Regions from separate parts of the Homo sapiens genome. Here region 1 is linked to region 2. The links are contacts of gene promoters, found by promoter capture Hi-C in human tissues and cell types (Jung and others, 2019). All regions are on one chromosome and are shown on one strand. The core of a region is centred on a gene start or on the middle of the fragment in contact, and the rest is flanking DNA. Distances in the headings are between cores, read along the strand shown.

Region 1 (4,324 bases), core at 644-3,143, 140 kb after region 2:
TGGTCTATAAATATTCTTAATGGCTTCTAGAATAGTGAATGCTTTCCAATGTAAATTTTTCAATTTACATTGCCCAGATCAGAAGAACCACTATGGCAGCCAGAGCCCCACAAAATGCATTTCTTTTTTTTTTTTTTTTTTTTTTTGTAGAGAAGGAGGCTCACTCTGTCGCCCAGGCTGGAGTGCAATGGCACAATCTCAGCTCACTGCAACCTCCACCTCCTGGGTTCAAGCAATTCTCCTGCCTCAGCCTCCTGAGTAGCTGGGACTACATGCACATGTTGCCATGTCCAGCTAATTTCTTTTTTTTCTTTTTTTTTGGAGATGGAGTCTCGCTGTATCGCCCAGGCTGGAGTGCAGTGGCACGATCTCAGCTCACTGCAAGCTCCGCCTTCCAGGTTCATGCCATTCTCCTGCCTCAGCCTCCCAAGTATCTTGGACTACAGGCGCCCACCACCACGCCCGGCTAATTTTTTGTATTTTTTGTAGAGACAGGATTTCAACATGTTGCCCAGGCTAGTCTCAAACTCCTGAACAAAGGCAATCCACCTGCCTCAGCCTCCCAAAGTGTTAGGATTACAGGCCCAAAATGCATTTCTTAAACAATACAACTTGAAAGTCAAGATTACTCCTTGATCCATAGGTTGCAGAATGGATGTTGAGTTAATAGGTGCTATTATCCACTATGGTTTGGATATGAGGATCCCTAACCTCATGTTGAAATTCAATCCCAATGTTGGAGGCAGGACCTAATAGGAAGTGTTTGGGTCACAGGATGGATCCCTCTGGAAGGGCATGGTGCCATCCTCGTGGTCATGAGTGAGTTCTCACTTTATTAGCCTCTGGGAGAACTAATAGTTAAAAGGAGCCTGGCACCTCCCTTCTCTCTCACTTCTCTGGCCATGTGACCTGCACACACCAGCTTCCCTTCCCCTTCTGCTGTAAGTAGAAGTGGCCTGAGTCCCTCGCCAGAAGAAGATGCTGGTGCCATGCTTCCTGTACAGCTTGCAGAACCATGAGCCAAATAAAGCTCTTTCCTTCATAAATTACCCAGCTTCGGGCATTCCTTTACAGCCACACAAATGGACTAAAGCCAGCAGGCACGAAAACAAAATTAATCTCCTTGTGCATCTCCATCAGAGCTCTTGGTTTATCAGGTCTATTGTCAATGAGCAGTGTTAGTATTATTATTATTATTATTATTATTATTATTATTATTATTATTATTATTTGAAATGGAGTCTCGTTCTGTCACCTGGCCTGGAGTGCAGTGGTGCGATCTCAGCTCACTGCAGCCTCCGCCTCCCTGGTTCAAGTGATTCTCCTGCCTCAGCCTCCCAAGTAGCTGGGATTACAGGCATGCACCACCATGCCCAACTAATTTTTGTATATTTTTTAGTAGAGATGGGGTTTCACCATGTTGGCCAGGCTGGTCTCGAGCTCCTGACCTCAGGTAATCCAACCACCTTGGCCTCCCACAGTGCTGGGATTACAGGCATGAGTCACCACGCACAGCCAATGATTAGTATTATTTTGATTTTTTTTTTTCTTTTGAGACAGAGTCTCACTCTATTGCCCAGGCTGGAGTGCAGTGGTGCGATCTCGGCTCACTGCAACCTCTGCCACCTGAGTTCAAGTGATTCTCCTACCTCAGCCTCCTGAGTAGCTGGGATTATAGGCGCCTGCCACTGCGCCTGGCTAATTTTTATATTTTTAGTAGAGACAGGGTTTCGCCATCTTGGCCAGGCTGGTCTTGAACTCCTGACCTCGTGATCCACTTGCCTCAGCCTCCCAAAGTGCTGGGATTACAGGCGTGAGCCACCGCACCCGGCCTGATCAGTATTATTTTGAAAGAAATCTTTTTTCTGAGCAGTAGGTCTCAACGGCAGGCTTAAAAATATTCAGAAAACTATGCTATAAACAGATGTGCTGACATCCAGGATTTGTTGTTCCATTTATAGAACACAGGCAGAGTAAATTTAGCATAATTCATAAGGGCCCTAGGATTTTCAGAATAGTAAATGAGCATTGGCTTCAACTTAAAGTCACCAGCTGTATAAGCCCCTAACAAGAGAGTCAGCCTGTCCTTTTTTTTTTTTTTGAGACAGAATCTCACTCTGTCACCCAGGCTGGAGTGCTGTGGCAGGTGCAATCTTGGCTCACTGCAACCTCTACTTCCTGGGCTCAAGCGATTCTCCTGCCTCAGCCTCCTGAGTAGCTGGGACTACAGGCAAGTGCCACCACACTCAGCTAATTTTTGTATTTTTAGTAGAGACAGGGTTTTGCCATGTTGGCCAGGCTGGTCTCAAACTCCTGACCTCAAGTGATCCACCCGCCTCAGCCTCCCAAAGTGCTGGGATTACAGCGTGAGTCACCAGACCTAGCCTGTCCTTGGAAGCCAGGCATTGACTTTTCCTCCCTAGCTATGAAAGTCCTAGATGTTATCTTCTTTCAACAGAAAGCTGTTTCACCCACACTGAAAACCTAGGCAGGGCATAGGGGCTCACGCCTGTAATCTCAGCATTTTGGGAGGCTGAGACAGGCAGATCATTTGAGGTCAGGAGTTCGAGACCAGCCTGGCCAACATAGTGAAATCCTGTCTCTTCTAAAAATAAAAAAATTAGCCAGGTGTGGTAACGTGCACCTGTAGACCCAGCTACTCGGGAGGCTGTGGCAGAAGAATCTCTTGAACCTGAGAGGTGGAGGTTGCAGTGAGCCGAGATTGCACCACTGCACTCCACCCTGGGCGACAGAGCAAAACTCTGTGTCAAAAAAAAAAAAAAGAAAAAACCTATTGTGTAGCCACCCTCACCGGTGATCTCAGCCAGATTCGGATAACCTGCTGCAGCTTCTCCAGCAGCACCTGCTGCTCTACCTTGTACTTTCATGTTATGGAGGTGGCTTCTTTCCTTCAACCTCATGAACCAACCTCTGTTAGCTTCACGCTTTTCCTCTGCAGCTTCCTCACCTCTCTCAGCCTTCATAGAATTGAAGAGAGTTACGGCCTTGCTCTGGATTAGGCTTTGGCTTAAGGGAATGTTGTGGCTGATTTCATCTTCTCTCCAAATCACTAAAATTCTTCTTCTCCGTTATCAGCAAGAAGGCTGTTTTGCTTTCTTATCATTCATGTGTTCACTGGAGCAGCACTTGTAATTTCCTTCGAAGGACTTTTCCTTTGCATTCACAACTTGGCTAACTGTTTGGCACACGAGGCCTAGCTTTCAGCCTATCTCAGCTTTCAACATGCCTTCCTAAGTTTAATCATGTCTAACTTTTGGCTTTTTTTTTTTTTTTTTTGAGAGTCTCGCTCTGTCGCCCAGGTTGGAGTGCAGTGGCACGATCTTGACTCACTGCAACCTCCACCTCTGGGTTCAAGAGGTTCTTCTGCCTCATCCTCTGAGTAGCTGAGACTACAGGCGTATGTCAACACACCTGGCTAGTTTTTTGTATTTTTAGTAGAGATGGCGTTTCACTATGTTGGCCAGGCTGGTCTCGAACTCCTGGCCTCAAGTGATCCAACCGCCTCAGCCTCCCAAAGTGCTGGAATTATAGGCATGTGCCACCGTGCCTGGCCTCCGGCTTTTGGCTTAAAGTGAGAGATGTGTGACTCTCTCCTTCACTGGAACACTAGAGGTAGGGTATTAATTGGTCTAATTTCAAAATTGTTGTGTCTCAGGGAATGAGGGAGCTCACGAAAAGGGAGAGAGATGGGGAAATAGCCGGTCAGTGGGGCAGTCAGAACACATACAACATTTATCAATTTCATTTGCTGTCTTACATGGACGTGGTTCGTGATGTCTCAAAACAATTACACTAGTAACACCAAAAATTACTGGTCATAGATCACCATAACAAAAATGATAACGAAAAAGTTTGAAATATTGCAAGAATTACCAAAATATGATATAGACACACTACATGAGCACAGGCTGGCCGAAAAATGGTGCCAATAGACTTGCTCAATGCAGGGTTGCCACAAACTTTTTTTTTTTTGAGAAGGAGTCTCGCTCTGTTGCCCAGGCTAGAGTGTAGTGGCATGATCCCAGCTCACTGCAACCTCTGCCTCCCAGGTTCAAGTGATTCTCCTGCCTCAGCTTCCCATGTAGCTGTGACTACGGCACATGCCACCACACCCAGCTAATTTTTTATATTTTTAGTAGAGATGGGGTTTCGCCATGTTGGCCAGGCTGGTCTCGAACTCCTGACCTCAGGTGATCCGCCTGCCTCGGCCTCCCAAAGTGCTGAGATTACAGGCCTGAGCCACCACGCCTGCCCCAAACTTTCAATTTGTAAAGAAGGCAGGACCTGGCTGGGAGCAGTGGCT
Region 2 (4,175 bases), core at 459-2,958:
ACACTACACACAATAAAACATGAAAGAGGGAGATAACAACATAAAGGAGTGATGTATGTCGGATACAAAATTTAACAAAACTGAAATAATTCCGGCAAAGAAGGATTAGATGGCTCAAAATATTGATAAGAGGAGATAAAACTTTTTACCTTGAAGCCACTGGTTCATATCCAGGTCAGACTAGAAGGCTCAAGGGACTGAAATCATAGTGTAGGGAAAAATCCTACAGTGGCTGTGGGGATGCACTAGATGTGACCTAATAGAAATTAGAGATGAAAAAGGCCCATGAAGACAAGCCAGAGCCCTGCCCCTGCCCGCCACCGAGGACCTGCACCCCTTCCGGGAAGGGCTGCTCAAGTTACGGAATGCTGTCACCACAGCTGCGGATGACAGCACCTTTGGGGGTGCCAGGGAGATCTGTTTCTGCCTGATTCACAATCAACCCACAGGCACGAAATCACAAGGGCTGAAATGTGAGCAACTAGGGGGAAGCCAGGAGACTTCGTTTCCAGAGAACCCTGAACAGCCTTCTGCCGGTCACAGATGAGACAGGGATGAGGAAATGCCGCTACAGACCCTCTGATCTGTCCACCCTCGCCTGAAAACCAGTATTTCCGAAGGAATTCTTACCAGCCAAAGTGACTCCAAGAAGACTGGCTAAAACTTAGCAGCGTGCCGCAGCCGAACACAAACCCCAGGAAACAAGCTCGGATGGCTATCTGAAAGGAACCCAAGAGAAGCTCAGTCATTCACAGTCCTCAGAGTACAGATCTGGGCTGCTGACCTTCCCGGAATAGGCAACCCACAGGCAAGCAGATAGAGCCGATTTGCTGAGGTTGAAAGGGAGAAGTGGGCGACCTGGGTTCAAATTCTGCACCCACCGCTCTCTGGCTGTGTGGCCTCCCAAATTATTTAACCTCTCTGAGCTTGCTTCCCCATCTACAGCCAGGGGATAACAGTACCTACCTTTTAGGACTGCAGTAAGGATTACCCACGTAAAACACTTAAGACTAACTGCTACCTACATTTTAGCTGTCATTATTATTATTATTCGTGATTACTATTCAGGGCTGTAGGAAAACTGCTTAAGCCTAGTTTATGAGGTCAGGGCACCCGGGCCTGTGCGCCCAGCCCCACCCACGTCACTGCGGGGCCTTTGACCTGAGACAGGGCAGCAGGTAGGTCTCTGCACCTTAAGTTACATAAAAGCACTCGCGGGCTCGCTCACTCCACCCCACGCGCACCTGCTGAGCTGCACAAGCTGCAATTTAACAACCCACTCCTCGGGTGCAGGGCGCCCGAGCCCGGAGAGAGAGGGTCCCCTCCTGCGACCTGAACTCGCGGATGAAGAGCGCGCGCGTGGGAGGCCACTGCGGGCCCGGGGAGAAAGGTGCCCACGCGCCGCGCCAAGCGGACCGCCGCCCGCCCCGCCGGCCCCCGCCGGCCCCCGCCGGCCTGCACCTGGTAGCGAGGCGGCCGATAGAGCAGCAGCAGCAGCGCGTTGAGCCCGGCCACGTAGAGCGCCAGCCCGGTGCGGCCCTGCAGGCCGGCGCGCGTGAGCAGCGGCAGCGCGAGCACCGAGGCGCCCAGCAGGAAGGTGGCGAGGCTGAGACGCGCCTCAGAGCCCGGCGGAGCCCGCGCCGCGCAGCCCGCCATGGCGCCGGGCGGCGGACTAGCGGGCGGCGGCGCCGGCTGTAGCCCGGAGAAACGCGCCGGCTGCGCCTGCGCACTGTGCCGCCGATGCCGGCCCGGGAAGGGCAGCTGCCCGCAGCTGCGCGCCGCCTGCCAGTTCTCGCGAGAACTCCGGCCCGCCCTGTTGCTGTCCGGAATTTGGCGGGAGCGCCCCGCCCGCCCGCCCCTCCCCGCCCCTCGGGGACATCCGGGCTCTGAGCCAGACTCTGTGCCGGGCGGGGGCCGGGAAGTGGTGGGAGAAGTCGCCGCCCGCGTCTGTCCAAACTTAGTCCCAAACTCAGGAGGTTCCTGTCCCAAGAAGCAATGTAAAGTTTGAAACGAGCCGAGCGCGGTGGCTCACGCCTGTAATCCCAGCACTTTGGGAGGCCGAGGCTGGCGAATCATTTGAGGTCAGGAGTTCGAGACCAACCTGGGCAACATGGGGAAACGCCGTCTATACTAAAAATACAAAAATTAGCTGGGCGTGGTGGCGCACGCCTTTAACCCCAGCTACTTGGTGAGGCTGAGGCAGGAGAATCGCTTGATCCGGGGAGACGGAGGTTGCAGTGAGCCGAGATTGTGTCACTGCACTCCAGCCTGGGTGACAGAGTGACACTCCATCTCAAAAAAAAAAATTTTGAAACGGCCGCACCCTCGCCGGCCCTGCGTCGTCCCCGAAAACCAGACGCCCTGGGGCGCGGGGCCAAGTGCGGCGACCTCCTGCCCTCCCTCTGCGGCTCCCTGGAAACCGGCCTGGACAACGGCACCTGGGCATCCATGCAACGGGACCACCGCCCGCTTAAATTCCTGTTGTGGAACAAGGCTGGACGGTGATGGGAATGCTCAGGATATGTTAGGTTTTCTTTTTTTTTTGAGACGGAGTCTCGCTCTGTCGCCCAGGCTGGAGTGCAGTGGTGCGATCTCGGCTCACTGCAAGCTCCGCCTCCCGGGTTCACGCCATTCTCCTGTCTCAGCCTCCCGAGTAGCTGGGACTACAGGCGCCCGCCACTGCGCCCGTCTTATTTTTTTGTATTTTTAGTAGAGACGGGGTTTCACCGTGTTAGCCGGGATCCATCTCCTGACTTCGTGATCCGCCCGCTTCGGCCTCCCAAAGTGCTGAGATTACAGACGTGAGCCACCGCGCCCTGCCTATATTAGGTTTTTAAATAGCAGGAGGCAAAGCTTTTCGGTGTGATCCTGACTTCACTTGGGGAAAAAGGGCAGGTATCTGAGCCTGGGAAAATGATCAAGCTATCAGCCAAAATGGTATAACGCCGACTATATATGTACCTTTTTTTTTTCTTTTTTTCTTTTTTAGACACAGGGTCTCACTGTGTTGGCCAGGCTGGAGTGCGGCAGTCTGGAACTCCTGGGCCCAAGTGATCCTCCAATCAGCCTCACAAAGCACTGGAATTACAGGTATGAGCCACCACCCCTGGCCTATCTTTAGGTAGTGGCACTCTTGGTGATTTTTATTGTCTTTATCTGTTTTTGCAGTTTCCATACTGCCTACAATGAACACAGGATACTTTTTTTTTTTCAGATGGAGTTTTGCTCTTGTTGCCCAGGCTGGAGTACAATGGCGCAATCTCGGCTCACTGCAACCTCCGCCTCCGGGTTCAAGTGATTCTCCTGCCTCAGCCTCCTGAGTAGCTGGGATTACAGGAGCCTACTACCACGGCCAGCTAATTTTTTTGTATTTTTAGTAGAGACGGGGCTTTACCATGTTGGCCAGGCTGGTTTCAAACTCCTGACCTCAGGTGATCCACCCGCCTCGGCCTCCCAAACTGCTGGGATTATAGGCATGAGCCACCGTGCCCGGCCCATAGATTACTTTTATAATCAAGTTTTTCTTTACTTTTTAAAGAGTAAATTCTCTCACCTCAGGTAGCTCAGAGAGCTGCGCTGGAGGAGAAAAGCCAGTAAGTGAACAACTGGAATAAACTCTGCAGGGGTGGCAGTGGGGGCAGAAGGAGAGCAAGGATGGGGAGCAAAGAGGGACCCCAGGGGAGGCCCTCAGCTTGGAGGGCGGCAGGGCGAGGAGGCTGCGAGGAACAGACGCCAGAGCTAGGCCTTGGGGCCCTTGGGGATGGACAGCCTGCCCTCCATTGGAAATGAGATCAAGGAGGGAGTGAGGGCTTGGCGTTTGAAAGGCACAGAGGCGGGAGGGAGAAAGGCTGAGAAGGGATGGGGACAGGCCCTCGGGGAGGCTGGCATCAAGTGGTGGGTCAGCGAGAGAGGCAGGCGGTCTGTGAGCCCTGCATCTGAGCCCCTCTCCACTCTTGTCCCTGCAGGTCCTGGCAGGAGCTCTGGTACCTGGGAAGCTGGATGGAGAGCCTGGGCCAGAATCCCGGACCCCTCACCTCTGCGGCCTAGCTTTGTGACCTTGGCAAATCCATTCTATGCACCTCCATTTCCTGTACAGTGGGGATCCTTATTTCTCTGGCACAGATTGGTATTTGTTCTGTAAAGCCCAGTACCACTTTATTTTATTTTAGTTATTG

What was found. Contacts are between HindIII fragments. The study calls those that stand out against the background at their distance.
Region 1: a contact is called between a fragment that was not itself captured here and the fragment with the promoter of ICMT in region 2, in 1 of the 25 tissues and cell types used here (lymphoblastoid cells).

Annotation. Positions count from the first base shown.
Region 1 is chr1:6,369,276-6,373,599 of GRCh38, forward strand. The region is part of intron 1 of ACOT7 (acyl-CoA thioesterase 7); the gene reads right to left. Among named protein-coding and RNA genes, the nearest start is that of ACOT7, 22 kb to the right of the region's middle. The HindIII fragment of the contact is 6,575 bases long and covers 1-4,324 here.
Region 2 is chr1:6,234,256-6,238,430 of GRCh38, forward strand. It overlaps ICMT (isoprenylcysteine carboxyl methyltransferase), which reads right to left and starts at 1,709. Exons shown (of 5, transcript NM_012405.4): 1 at 1,462-1,709; 2 at 631-719. The coding sequence starts at 1,656. It overlaps ICMT-DT (ICMT divergent transcript), which reads left to right and starts at 1,985. Exons shown (of 5, transcript NR_103534.1): 1 at 1,985-2,081; 2 at 2,711-2,895; 3 at 2,990-3,090; 4 at 3,559-3,593; 5 at 3,966-4,175. RefSeq lists silencers at 1,378-1,437, 1,648-1,977 and an enhancer at 1,942-2,914. The HindIII fragment of the contact is 11,307 bases long and covers 1-4,175 here.